4 separate regions of the Homo sapiens genome follow, and regions 1, 3 and 4 are each linked to region 2. Evidence: promoter capture Hi-C in human tissues and cell types (Jung and others, 2019). All regions are on one chromosome and are shown on one strand. Each heading gives the region's core, a stretch centred on a gene start or on the middle of the fragment in contact. The rest is flanking DNA. Distances are from core to core; before and after follow the strand shown.

What was found. The method cuts DNA at HindIII sites, captures the fragments that hold promoters and counts their contacts. A contact is called where the count stands out against the background at its distance.
Region 1: a fragment that was not itself captured here is called in contact with the fragment with the promoter of PRR5-ARHGAP8 in region 2 in 3 of the 25 tissues and cell types used here (IMR-90 fibroblasts, mesenchymal stem cells and spleen).
Region 3: a contact is called between a fragment that was not itself captured here and the fragment with the promoter of PRR5-ARHGAP8 in region 2, in 2 of the 25 tissues and cell types used here (IMR-90 fibroblasts and lymphoblastoid cells).
Region 4: a contact is called between a fragment that was not itself captured here and the fragment with the promoter of PRR5-ARHGAP8 in region 2, in 1 of the 25 tissues and cell types used here (spleen).

The regions. Positions count from the first base shown.
Region 1 is chr22:44,019,011-44,022,508 of GRCh38, forward strand. It overlaps LOC124905131 (a long non-coding RNA gene), which reads right to left. Exons shown (of 2, transcript XR_007068125.1): 1 at 2,441-3,498; 2 at 1-1,108. It also overlaps a transcript of PARVB not described here. Among named protein-coding and RNA genes, the nearest start is that of PARVB, 3.5 kb to the right of the region's middle. The HindIII fragment of the contact is 3,129 bases long and covers 174-3,302 here.
Region 2 is chr22:44,700,160-44,703,502 of GRCh38, forward strand. It overlaps PRR5-ARHGAP8 (PRR5-ARHGAP8 readthrough), which reads left to right and starts at 2,045. Exons shown (of 15, transcript NM_181334.6): 1 at 2,045-2,449. The coding sequence starts at 2,316. It overlaps PRR5 (proline rich 5), which reads left to right and starts at 2,045. Exons shown (of 8, transcript NM_181333.4): 1 at 2,045-2,449. The coding sequence starts at 2,316. RefSeq lists a silencer at 1,919-2,328. The HindIII fragment of the contact is 17,168 bases long and covers 1-3,343 here.
Region 3 is chr22:44,060,519-44,064,092 of GRCh38, forward strand. The region is part of intron 1 of PARVB (parvin beta); the gene reads left to right. Among named protein-coding and RNA genes, the nearest start is that of PARVB, 38 kb to the left of the region's middle. RefSeq lists an enhancer at 3,407-3,574. The HindIII fragment of the contact is 5,255 bases long and covers 1-3,574 here.
Region 4 is chr22:45,248,598-45,251,974 of GRCh38, forward strand. No RefSeq gene overlaps it. Among named protein-coding and RNA genes, the nearest start is that of KIAA0930, 9.4 kb to the left of the region's middle. RefSeq lists an enhancer at 1,035-1,084. The HindIII fragment of the contact is 6,006 bases long and covers 1-3,377 here.

The sequences.
Region 1 (3,498 bases), core at 488-2,987, 680 kb before region 2:
GGTTCAAGCGATTCTCCTGCCTCAGCCTCCCCAGTAGCTGGGATTATAGGCGCCTGCCACCATACCTGGCTAATTTTTGTATTTTTAGTAGAGACAGGGTTCCACCATGTTGGCCAGGCTGGTCTCGAACTTGTGACCTCAGGTGATCTGCCCGCCTCGGCCTCCCAAAGTGCTGGGATTACAGGCGTGAGCCACCACGCCTGGCCTATTTTTATTTTTTTATTTTTGAGATGGAGTCTTTCTCTGTTGCCCAGGCTGGAGTGCAATGGCATGATCTTGGCTAACTGCAACCTCCGCCTGCCGGGTTCAGGTGATTCTCCTGCCTCAGCCTCCCGAGTAGCTGGGATTACAGGCATGCATCATGACACCCAGATAATTTTTGTATTTTTAGTAGAGACAGGGTTTCACCATGTTGGCCAGTCTAGCCTCAAACTGCTGACATCAGGTGGACTGCTGGCCTCGGCCTCTCAAAGTGCTGGGATTGCAGGCATGAGCCACCGTGCCCGGCTGAAGCTGGTAATTAATAAAGAAAAGAGGTTTTGTCGCTCACGGCTCTGCAGGCTGCACAAGCAGCATGGCACAGCATCTGCACGGGTGAGGGCCGCAGGCTGCTTCTCCTGGCAAAAGGAGCAATGGAGCCACATGCACAGAGATTACAGGGCAAGAGAGGAAGCAAGAAAGTGCGGGGGACGGCCAGCTCTCAAGGGAGCTAACAGAGTGCAAACTCACTCATTACTATGAGGATGGCACAAAACCATGAGGGATCCTCCCCAGGACCCACACACCCCCCATCAGGCCCGACTCCCAACACGGGATTGAATTTCAATATGGGGTTTAGATATTTGGAGTCAAATATCCAATACATAGCACTCCCAAAAGATGCTGAAATCCTAATCCCCAGTACTGTGACTGGGACATTATTTGGAGGTAGGGTTGTATGGAAAAATCAAACTGCCTTTCCTCTTCTCTCACACCACAAGTGTCAACACTCCTGTGACTCCTGTGATGAACGGGCTGAGGATTTCTCCCCGCCAGCAAGTCGGCACTCAGTTCTGCAGCGGCGCCAGCTGGGTGTCCCCCAGTCCAGTTCAATTCCAGCATGGTCCATCTGCAGACAGCACAAGATCCCACAGGGTGAGGGCTCAGTCCCACAAGACAGTCACCACTTTTTTTTTTTTTTTTTTGAGGCAGGGTCTGGCTCTGTTGCCCAGGCTGGAGTACAGTGGCATGATCATGGCTCACTGCAACCTCGACCTCCTGGGCTCAAGTGATCCTCCTAGCTCAGCCTCCTGAGTAGCTGGGACCCCAGGCATATGCCATTACACCCAGCTAATTTTTTATTTTGTACAGAGGGGGTCTTGCCATATTGCCCAGGCTGGTCTCGAATTCTTAGCCTCAAGTGATTCTCTGGCCTCAGTCTCCCATAGTGTTGGGCTCTCAGGCATGAGCCATTGCATCCAGCCACCTGCCACCACTTCTGATGCCAGTCACAAGCCCCAGCTAGTTCTGCCTGTGCTTCTGACTGGCTATAAATTGAGATTCTTACCCCCCTCAGGTTTGATTAGCTGGAGTGGCTCACAAAACTCAGGGCAACACTGACATTTTCTGGATGATTACAAAGGGTGTTACAAAGGCTTCTGATGAACACCAGAGGAAGAGACTGGTAGGGCAAGGATGGAGGAGGGGCATTAAGCTTCCTTGCCCTCCCCAGGTGCACCACCCTCAGGAACCTCCATGTGTTTAGCTATTTGGAAGCTTCTCCAACTCTGTCCTTTCTTTTTTTTTTTTGAGACTGAGTCTCACTCTGTCGACCAGGCTGGAGTGCAGTGGCGTGATCTCGGCTCACTGCAACCTCCACCTCCTGGGTTCAAGCGATTCTCCTGCCTCAGCCTCCCAAGTAGCTGGGATTACAGACATGCACCACCATACCTGGCTAATTTTTGTATTTTTAGTAGTGACGGGGTTTCACCATGTTGGCCAGGCTGACTCCTCCAACTCCTGACCTCAAGCGATCCACCCACCTTGGCCTCCCAAACTGCTGGGATTATAGACGTGAGCCACCACGCCTGGCCCCCCTTTTGGGTTTTTATGGAGCCTTCATTGGCTAAGCACAATTGAAGCTGGACAACCATGTCGAAGTGTGATTGGACAAAAACAGTATGACTCAACACCATCAGTCAGAGTGGTGAAGCCCCGCAAGGCCTGTCTGTATAGCATTTCTTCCTCCTGGGCGGGAGGCTGGACTCCTCCTGAAATGGGGGTCCCGTGACCCTCAGTCAGACAAGGCAGGTCAGAGAATTTCTCCACGGCCAGCTCCAAGATGGAAAGGTGGGGGAAGATTCAAGTATATTTTCATTTTCTATGGCCTGACTTGGGGAGAAAAAGGAGCAGGTGAAAGGAGGGAAGGAGAAAGAAGGTCAGAAAGAGAGAGAAACTACACCTGAAGCCTGCTTCCAAAGATCCAACATGATAACACAGGACTATCGTTCCCCTTTATTGCTCTGAAGCTGTTTCCACACTGCTTCAGGAACCAAGGAAAAAAGAACAAATATTGTAACAAAAGATCTGCTTATTGCTATAGTCACTGAGGAAATAACAAGGGTGATGGGAATTATGAGCCAGGCATGGTGGAGGAAAACCAATGCATAAATATCATCATCTCACAGGGTCTTTGCAGATGATGAGGTGAAGATGAATCACCAGGATGGGCTCTAATCCAACATGACTGTGTCCCTGTAAAGTCTAGACTCACACACACACACACACACACACACACACACACACACACACACACACACACACACACAGGGCCTAGTAGAGACGGAGGCAGAGACGGGGCAATGCTTCTACAGGCCGAGGAACATGGAAGATTTGCTGGCAAACCCCAGGAGCCTGGAGAGATGCAGGGAACAGATTTGCCCGTGCAGCCTCCAAATGGAAATGAACCTAGCCTACACCTTGATTTGGATTTCTGGCCTCCTGCTGAAATCCTAATCCCCAGTACACAGGGGTATTACAAGGACACGGTCATCTTGGATTACAGCCCACTCTGGTGACTTCATCTTCACTTGATCATCTGCAAAGACCCTTGTGAGATGATGATATTTATCAATTGGTTTTCCTCCACCGTGCCTGCCTCATAATTCCCGTAGACCTTGTTATTTCTCTCCAAACTGTGAGAGAAGACGTTTCTGTTGTTCTGAGCCCTCCAGCTCATGGAACTTTGTGCTGGCAGCCCCAAGACACCCCAGTGTCCTCTCCCTGTCTCTTCTGCCTGGTGGGTCTTCTCCTCCTTTACTGAAAGGAAAAGGGCATTTGATCCTTGTTCCAGGTCAAATGTCCCTTCCCTGCAAGCCTCCTCTGCCCACAGCACTTCTCCCCCACCCCATCCACATGGTCCCTGTCCCTCCTCCATGCTGGCCACGCTACACGGCCACTGTGTCCTGTGCCCACGTTCTCCTTGACCACAAACTCCTGGAGGACAAAGCTCTGTGCCCT
Region 2 (3,343 bases), core at 795-3,294:
ATTTTTTAAAAATTAGCCAGGGAGCCGGGCACAGTGGTTCATTCTTGTAATCCCAGCACTTTAGGAGGCCGAGGTGGGAGGATCACCTGAGGTCAGGAGTTTAAGACCAGCCTGGCCAACATGGTGAAACCCCATCTCTACTAATAAATAAAAAAATCAGCCAGGCGTGGTGGTAGGTGCCTATAATCTCAGCTACTCACTAGATTGAGGCAGGAGAATCACTTGAACCTGGGAGGCAGAGGTTAGCAGTGAGCCATGATTGCGCCATTGCACTCCACAGGCGACAAGAGCGAAACGCCATCACACACGCAAAAAATCAGCCAGGCATGGTGGCACATGCCTTGTAGTCCCAGCTATTCAGGAGGCTAACGTGGGAGGGTTGCTTGAACCCAGGAGGTAGAGGCTGCAGTGACCACAGTGGTGCCACTGCATTCAACCTGGGCCAAAAAGTGAGACTCTGTCTCAAAAAGAAAAGAAAACGTGTACAGCACTTGACAGTTAGTTTATAAAGCACCTGTTGCTGCCTGTGGGCCCCAAGCTGCCTGTGAGATGAACCGTTCCATCCCGCTTTACTGATGAGCAAGTTTGTCTGTTTATGTCTCTGTCTCCCAAAGACGATGGTATTTATGTCTGGAACACAGGAGGTACTCAGGAGACACTGGTTGATTTGCACTAAACAAAGACTCTTCATGAGGCTCTCTTACTTTTTATTTTATTTTATTATGATGATGATGATTTTTGAGACGGAGTTTTGCTGTTGTTGCCCAGGCTGGAGTGCAGTGGCGAGATCTCAGCTCTCTGCAACCTCTGCCTCCCAGGTTCAAGCGATTCTCCTGTCTCAGCCTCCTGAGTAGCTGGGATTACGGGCATGCACCACCACGCCCAGCTAATTTTGTATTTTTAATAGAGATGGGGTTTCTCCATGTTGGCCGGGCTGGTCTTGAACTCCTGACCTCAGGTGATCCTCCCACCTCGGCCTCCCAAAGTGCTGGGATTACAGGCATGAGCCATCACCTCTCTCTTACATTTTATATGGGGCCCTCCCAGCTCCTGGAGCTGTGGCTGTCACCCCCCATCTGATGGAGGGGTCAGGTGAGCCTTGTGGGAATCCCAGAAGCTGGGGACTGGGAAGGGCCCTGTTCAAGGGGCTGGACGCTCCCTGTGGTGAAGCCCAACTCTACCATTTGTTGATTGCACAATGTTGGCACAATGTTGGGCAAGTTATTTCACTCTGTGAGCCTCAATGTCCTCAACTGGAAAATGGGGAGAAGAATAATCTCTACCTCACGGAAGTAGTTCATGTTAGTTCATGTGAAATCAGACATCTAAAAGTGCTCTGCGAAGCAGGCAGGAAGCACCGGCTGTGCCCTGCCTTCACTGGGATCACTCTGCCCCCACCACAGGGACTTGGGAAACTGCTTGGTTTTACCATCCAAGAGACCTGGGGGTGGGAGATAAGGAGCAAACCCTCTACTTCTTCAAGCCCTCACTCCAGCAAATCCTCCAGGCAGCCAGGCAATGCTGAAGTCCCTGTCCAAGGGGGTCTAGGCTGAGCCCGGGTGGAGTGGGTTCTTGGGCCAAGGTGCCTGGAGGGGACTGAAGGCCTCTACCCAAAGTCCTCATGAGAACTGGGTGGGGGAGCCTGTGTTCAGGTGAGGGGTACGGAGGCACCTCTGTGGCACAGCCTTTGCGAGGAGGGCTGTGGAGGGAGACCTCCGGGGCCGGGGTCGAAGGACATCGTGTGGGCGCGACCGCAGTGCTGGGCGGGGGGCGGGCGCTTGGGCTTGGGCCCTGCGTCCTGTGCGTGTTGGTTTCCTGTGGGCACGTGGGGCCCTCGGAAGAGGGGAGGAGGGTGAGCACGTCCTCAGAGGGCAGACCCAGCGAGGCGTCGTGGCAGCTGCGGCCGCGGAGACGCCGGCTCCGCCTCTTGCACACGCCCCCTCGCCTGAGGCCCCGCCCCGCCCGCGATGCCCCCGCCCCCTTCCCCGCCCCGCCCCCCGGGGCGCCGAGACCCGCCCCTGGGCCCGCCCCCGGGTCCGCCCCCGGCCTCCGTTTGCGCCGGGTCTGTGCTGGCCGCGCGCCTGGCGCTCCACGCTGAGCCTCTCCGTGCAATGATTAACCCGGCGGGGCGGCCGGCGCGGGACCCGAGACGGAGGCGCGGGGCCGGGGCGGGACCCCGCAGGACCGCTCGGCTTCCTGCTCTCGCCGGAGTTTCCGCGTAGAGGGCGCATCGCCGGCCCGGGGCCCTTGGTGCGGCGTGGCGCAGGGCGCGGCGTGGGGCGCGCGTGGGCGCGGCGCAGGCGGCCCGGGTCACCATGAGGACTCTCCGCAGGTTGAAGTTCATGAGTTCGCCCAGCCTCAGTGACCTGGGCAAGAGAGAGCCGGCCGCCGCCGCGGACGAGCGGGGCACGCAGCAGCGCCGGGCCTGCGCCAACGCCACCTGGAACAGGTAAGGCCGCGCCCTCCCGGCCACCCGGAGGCCCTGGAGCCGGGGGAGGGGACCCCTGAGCCGTCCGCGGGCTAGGGGCCGCCCCGAGCCAGGAACGCTGCCGAAGGCGGCGCGGCGCTTCACAGTTTGCAAAGAACTTGCCCCGCCGGAGTGGTGCGGGCCTGGAGGAAAGTTCAGTGCAGCGTGGTTCCAGAACCCAGGGAAGGGAGCGAGGCCCGCCAGCGCCCGGGGCTGGCCCAGAAGCGCCCGGCGGGTGGGCGGCGGGGTGGGCCGGGAAGCCGCGTGCCCGCCTCCTACCCGGGGTCTTTCCACGTCTCCACTGCGGTGCTCGTGACAACCTGGGAGGCTAACGGAGCAGGAAGTATTTTTCCCATTTTGCGGCTGAGCACGGGAGCCTCGGGGCTCAGTGGGTGGGTCGCGCAGGCTTCCTGTGTCTCTTTAAGCTCCCTTCGGCTTTCCCTTGAGAGGCCCCCTGTCCTCCAGCTGTCAGCAGGGGGTGCGGCAGCTGCGAGGCATTCTTTAGAGGACTCTCCTCCAGGGGTCATTCCCAGACAAGCAGGGGCCTGGGAAGCCCCTTCTCCCAGCTTTGTTTGAGGAGCAAGTCCGGGATCTGGAAAAGAGACGGTTTATTTAGTGGAACTCCCCAGCGTCTCTGCTCCCTAGGAAAATGAGAGGCAGGAGAAAGTGAGGCAGGCTGTTCGCGGGAGGCAGTGGACACTGTTCGGGGGAGGCTGTGGACACTGTTCGGGGGAGGCTGTGGACGTTGCCCCTCTCGCGCCCACACCTGGCAGTAAAATCTTGCCAGATGCTCCACCGGCTGTGGTCTTGGCCACCGGGAACCCGGCTGTCACTTGGACACACGTTATTTTCAGTTCATTGAATGCATTGTGAGCG
Region 3 (3,574 bases), core at 67-2,566, 640 kb before region 2:
CAGGTAGTGGGGCAACCGGAGCTTAGGGTGAGTTATACCTGATGGGACTTAACTGGGTAAATGTCATCTAGTAACCCAACTACATTCGGCATTAATATCTGGACAAAAGGTGGAATACACCCGGGTTCTTTGGGCACAGGCGAAGGAGAGGTCTCATAGTTTGATGTTGCTCAAGAAGGGAAAACAAGCAGGATGGGAAGAGGTCTAATCAGCCGGCTGGAGTGGGGTGCTGGGTTTAGTTCATTCCTTCTTAAACTCAGCCAGTTCTCATTATTCATGGTGGTTTTGATCTATAAAGTTGCCACAAACCCCAAGTTAGCCAATACTGAGCCATCACTCCTAGGGCAGTACAGCGCTCGGTTCCTGCGAGCCTCTGGTCACAACATTTTCAGCAACAGATCCATACATAACTTTTTCTTATATATGTTTCTTTTTAAAGATACGTTATTTAAAATGTATTGTTGATTGATTAACATTGAGCTCACGGCCAACAGCAGTATAAGTGCTGCCTGAATGAAGCTTCTCTGACCTGTGCGTTCTCTGCAAGGCATACCTCAGCCTTCTTGCACTTGGGAACACTAGGAGTACCCCTCGCCACGCGTGGGGACCCATTTTAAACAGCAAAGTTGGCTGGGCACGGTGACTCATGCCTGTAATCCCAGCACTTTGGGAGGCCGAGGCAGGCAGATCACCTGAGGTCAGGAGTTCGAGACCAGCCTAGCTAACATGGGGAAGCCCAGTCTCTACTAAAAGTACAAAAAAATTAGCTGGGCATGGTGGTGTGCTTCTGTAATCCCACCTATTCAGGAGGCTGAGGCTGGAGAATTGCTTGAACCCAGGAGGCAGAGGTTGCAGTGAGCCGAAGTCACGTCACTGTACTCCAGCCTGGGCATCAGAGCAAGACTTCATCTCAAAAACAAAACAAAACAAAACAAAACAAAACAAACCAAAACAGTGAAGTCACCAACAAATAGCAGAAAAATGTGAAAAACATGGCATTAAATAGACCATGAAATGGACACTTGTTTATGATGTGAGACCTCAGACAAGAAGGCAGAGCGCCCCGTGTTTGACCTCAGGTGGGGACACATCCGGCAACTCAGATTCTTTTTTTTTTGAGTGGAGTCTCACTGCGTCACCCAGGCTGGAGTGCAGTGGTGCAATCTCGGCTCACTGCAACCTCTGCCTCCTGGGTTCAAGCAATTCTCCAGCCTCAGCCTCCCGAGTAGCTGAGACTATAGGTGCGCACTACCACACCCAGCTAATTTTTGTATCTTTAGTAGAGACGGGGTTTCACCATATTGGTCAGGCTGGTCTCGAACTCCTGACCTCAGGCGATCCACCCGCTTTGGCCTCCCGAAGTGCTGGGATTACAGGTGTGAGCCACCACACCCAGTCAGATTCTTTGCTTCTGTGTGCAGGTCTGTGAATGAATGTAGGCCAAGAGTATTGATTCTGAGCTTACAAATTTTAGCCAGTAGACACATTTACACATACAGAATCCATGAATCAAGGCGATTGACTGTACTTTGACAATTATTTGTTTAGCACTGTAGGAGGAACCTGCAAACTGTTCCTTCCCTCTGCTCACATACTGCCCAGGGTAAGACTTCTGACACCAGAGGTGCAGGGATGCTTCCTGCCGCACCTGGCAGTTCTCCAGCAGACACCAGCTGGGTGTCCTGCAGTTCAGTTCAATTCTGACACCATCGACCTGGAGAGAGCCTCAGACCCCACAGGTGAGGGCTCAGCCCCACGAGACTGCACCCCAAATCAGGGTCCCCACGACTGCTTCCTCGGTTTTGATTAATTTGCTGGGACTCAGAACTTGGAAATGGGCCAGGCACGGTGGCTCAAGCCTGTAACCCCAGCACTTTGGGAGGCCAAGGCAGGTGGATTGCTTGAGGTCAGGAGTTCGAGACCAACCGGGCCAACATAGTGAAACCCCATCTCTACTAAAAATACAAAAATTGGTTGGGCATGGTGGTGGGCACTGTAATCCCAGCTACTCGGGAGACTGAGGCAGGAGAATTGCTTGAACCTGGGAGGTGGTGATTGCAGTGAGCTGAGATCGCACCACTGCACTCCAGCCTGAGCAACAAGAGCAAAACCCTGTCTGGAAAAAAAAAAAAAAGAACTCAGGGAAACACTGCATTTGTGCTCCCTGGTCTATTATAAAGGAGATGATAAAGGGTGCAGGTGAGCAGAACAGGAGGAGGCACACAGGGTGAGGCCTGGGAGGGCCCCCAGCACAGGAGCTTCTGTTGCCCTGGAGTTGGGGTGTGCCACCCTCCTGGCACCTGGATGTGTTTACCCACCCGGAAGCTCTCTGCACCCTGTAGTTCAGGGATTTTTACGGAGGCTTCATCATGTAGGCATGTCTGGTTATTAGTTCAATCTCCAGCCCCTCTCCCCTTTCTGGAGGGTGGGGTTGGGGGGTGTGGAGCTGAAAGCTCCAGGCTTCTAATTGTGTCTGGGTCTTTCTGGTGCTCAGCCCCCACCCAGGAGCCACCAAGAGTCACCTCATTAGAATAAAACATCCTTTTATCTCCCTGGAAATTCCAAGGGATTAGGAACTTTGTGTCAGGAACCAGGGTCAAAGACTAAATATTAGAACAAAAGATTGTCCTGGCACCTGGAAATTACAAGGTTCTTAGGATCTGTGTGCCAGGGACTGGTGGCAGAGACCAATATGAATATTTCTTTTCTTTTCTTTTTTTTTTTTTGAGATGGAGTCTCGGTCTGTCACCCAGGCTGGAGTGCAGTGGTGTGATCTCAGCTTACTGCAACCTCCGCCTCCCGGGTTCAAGTGATTCTCCTGCCTCAGCCTCCTGAGTAGCTGGGACTACAGGTGTGCACCATCATGCTGGGCTAATTTTTGTATTTTTATTAGAGACGGGGTTTCACTATGTTGGCCAGGCTGGTCTCAAACTCCTGACCTCAGGTGATCCACCTGTCTTGGCCTCCCAAAGTACTGGGATTACAGGCGTGAGCCACCGCGCCTGGCCCAATATGAATATTTCTTATTATTTTACAAGCACTTGCGGTGTGTCCTGTGGTCTCCGTCCTCAGCGTCGTGGTTTAGAGGGTGCCTGACAGGCAGGGTGTGGGGTTAGTGGGGTTGGGGAGTGATTTCCGGGGCACAGTGATCCCCAGAGTATGTGTGGTTGTCCAGTTCACTCACTCCTCGTGGCCTGCTCGGTGCTGGGGGTCCACACTCACAGAGGGCATGGTCTGTGCCCCTTGGGATCAGGCAGCTGCTCCTGGTACAGATGAGTTGGGAGATGACTTCCTCCAGGGCATGTGAGAAGCTCTCAATGACCAGGCCAGCTCGGATTCCCAGTTCTGGCCGAGCCGATGTGCTCTCTGTTGCCACATTCCGTGTCACTTCCCAGGCCTCCCCGGCTTCCCATTCTCGGGGCCAGGTGTTCCGTGGATGGGGTGCGGTGCGGCCTTTGATACCAGAGGCCTGGGATCGCTTTCCTCCTCGGTTTCTGTGTGGTCAGTGGCGCCTTCACCTGTCTCATGCCCTGCCATGCTGCCATGCAAGGGCAGAGGGCTGGTGTTGGGGTGG
Region 4 (3,377 bases), core at 728-3,227, 550 kb after region 2:
TTGCTGGGAAGTGGAGTGGAGATGCAGGGTGCTCCAGGGCAGGGGCACCTGAAACCAGCGCAGCCTGAAACAGGCAGATCCCTTCTGCTCCAGCGCCCTGCTCCATCTGTCAATGAGAAGGAGGCTAAACTAGATATCCCCTTGGGCCTTTCCAGCCCCAACATCATGGGAGAACAGGTAGGGTGGGCCAGGGCAGGGAGAGCTGGAGAGCCTGCTCCCCTTTTCCTGCCCCCTGAGGCTCCAGTTCAGAAGATGTTCCCCTTGTCCATGAACACACAGCCTTGGCACCCTCTGCCTCCTGCCTGGTCATGGCTGTGATCCAGGTGAACCTGACCTACCTGTCTCTGGACAGAACCTTTTGACTTCTGCTAGCACAGCTCCCTGGCATCTCCCCACCCCCAAAGCTTTGGTGAGCAGAGCCAGGTGGGACTGGGCAATAGGTCTGGTCATTGCCTCCATTTGGTCATCTCAGAATCAGCCCCCTTGGAGGCATCTGTGTGACCTCTGCCCCTGCTGATGCTAGGTTATTGGTTAGGCTCACAGGGCTGGAGCTCACAGAATTTTGAGGGGCGATGAACACTGTGTTAATAATTAACATTGTGTACTACTGTAAAATGCAAAAATAAAATGGCAAAATTAAAATTAATAGACATTTCATTAAATACCTACAAGATGGAAGATTATGTCATCTTTTCGATTTGGTATTTATAAAAGTTTTACTACATTTGAAAACTCTTTGTGGGTTAGATTTTCTCACGTAGCAAGAATTCTGAGAGTTCCAGATGGTCGACGAGAAATCAGAAACTGAAAGTTACTGGTATTTTAGTTTATTTGGCAAACGTGTATTCAGGACTTACCTCTGCTGGGCGTGGTGTTATGAATTTACATATGTCAACACACTGAATTCTATGACTTAAGAGCCATCATTATTCCTGTTTTATGCATGAGGAAACCGAGGCATACAGAGGTTATGTACCTTCTCCAAGATTAGCAAAGGCAGAGTCACGTAGCCAAGAAAATTCAAAGGCAAAATTATAGAAATCTTTTCAGATTTTTTTTTTTTTTTTGAGACGGAGTCTCACTCTGTCACCCAGGCTGGAGTGCAGTGGCGCTATCTCAGCTCACTGCAAGCTCCGCCTCCCAGGTTCACGCCATTCTCCTTCCTCAGCCTCCCTAGTAGATTACAGGCGCCCGCCAACACACCCGGGTATTTTTTTTTTTTTTTTTTTTTTGTATTTTTAGTAGAGACTGGGTTTCACTGTGTTAGTCAGGATGGTCTCGATCTCCTGACCTTGTGATCCACCCGCCTTGGCCTCCCAAAGTGCTGGGATTACAGGCATGAGCCGCTGTGCCTGGCCTGAAATCTTTTCAGAATTTTTCAGGGGAAACATTTTGATAAGGGTGCATTCATGTTGCAGATGATATAGGCTGAGCCTCTGAAAGCTAGAGTGACTCAGGCCAACAAATGCCTGGAAATGGCTCTGTCCTCCAGCCCACATGGATGGTGGGGCCCACACGTGGAAGGTAACTATTGATGAAAGAAGAAAATTAGGCCAGGTGCAGTGACTCACGCCTGTAATCCCAGCTCTTTGGGAGGCTGAGGGGGAGTGGATCACCTGAGGTCAGGAGTTCAAGACCAGCCTGGCCAACATGGTGAAACCCTGTCACTACTAAAAATACAAAAATTATCCAGGCATGGTGGTGGGCGCTTGTAATCGCAGCTACTTGGGAGGCTGAAGCATGGGAATCACCTGAACCTGGAAGGCAGAGGTTGCAGTGAGCCAAGATGGCGCCATTGCACTCCAACCTGGGCAACAAGAGTGAAACTCCATCTTAAAAAAAAAAAAGAAAGAAAGAAGAAAAATTAACAACTCATTGCTCACTTGGAGGGATAGCGTCTCCAGAGAAGGGAAAAGACAGCACTTCTTAATAACACTCAGTGGTATGCCGAGGTCTCTTTAATCCCCCTTTAATCCCCCTAAATTAACTGCAGGATTGTACTGGGTATTTTTGGGTTTTGTTTTTGTTAGAGACGGCGTCTCGCTCTGTCGCCCAGGCTGGAGTGCAGTGGCGCAATCTTGGCTCACTGCAACCTCTGCCTCCCAGGTTCAAGCGATTCTCCTGCCTCAGCCTCCCAAGTAGCTGGGACTACAGGCGCGTGCCACCACGCCCGGCTAATTTTTTGTATTTTTAGTACAGATGGGGTTTCACCGTGTTAGCCAGGATGGTCTCAATCTCCTGACCCACCCACCTCCCAAAGTGCTGGGATTACAGGCGTGAGCCACCGCACCCGGCCTTGTTTTTGTTTTTGAGACAGTGTCTCACTCTGTCGCCCATGCTGGAGTGCAGTCCACAGCTCACTGCAACCTCTGCCTCCCAGGCTCAAGTGATCCTCCCACCTCAGCACCCCTCCGAGGAGCTGGGACAACGGGCTCACACCCCTACACCAGGCAGATTTTTGTATTTTTAGTAGAGACAGGGTCACGCCATATTGCCCAGGCTGGTCTCAAACTCCTGGGCTCAAGCAATCTGCCTGCATCCACCTCCAAAGTGCTGGGATGACAGGCGTGAGCCACTGCACATGGCCCGGATTGTACTGTTATCATCCCCATTTTATAGGTGAGAACATTGAGGCTCACCTTTTGACAACATTTTGCAGGGAGTGGAGATGCCGAGTGGCTTACTCAAGGCCACGAAGCCAGGGGGTTGTGCCCGTGGTAAGCGCTGAGAAGAAGGCGGTGACTGTACTTGTATATCTGGCCTCACTTCAGTTATATTGATGTGTTTAGCACCTACTTAGTGAAGAGCCCACACCTGTTCCCACCCAGTGCCGCCCTTTCCTACGTGGGCGATGGAGCAGTGGTGCATCATGGGAGCCACGGATAAGGGCTGGATGGGAAAGTTTGGGCACATCTGGAAGCCCCAGGCTGTTGTATAGACCTTCAATCCTGGGAGTCATGACCAAGGAGTATTTATGGTGCTTCAGAAACATGAGCCGAGGCTGGGCACAGTGGCTCACATTTATAATCCCAGCACTTTGGGAGGCTGAGGCATGTGGATCACCTGAGGTCAGGAGTTCAAGACCAGCCTGGCCAACATAGTGAAACCCCGTCTCTACTAAAAATACAAAAATTAGCCAGGTGTAGGGGTGCACACCTGTAGTCCCAGCTACTCAGGAGGCTGAGGCAGGAGAATCACTTGAACCTGGGAGGCGGAGGTTGCAGTGAACCGAGGTGGCTCCACTGCACTCCAGCCTGGGCAACAGAGTGAGATTCCGCCTCAAAAAAAAAAAAAAAAAATTAGAAACGTGAGCTGGGTGAGTGTCAGTTTCCTGTGGCCGCCGTAACCAGTCACTACAAACTGCTGGCTTAAGCCAA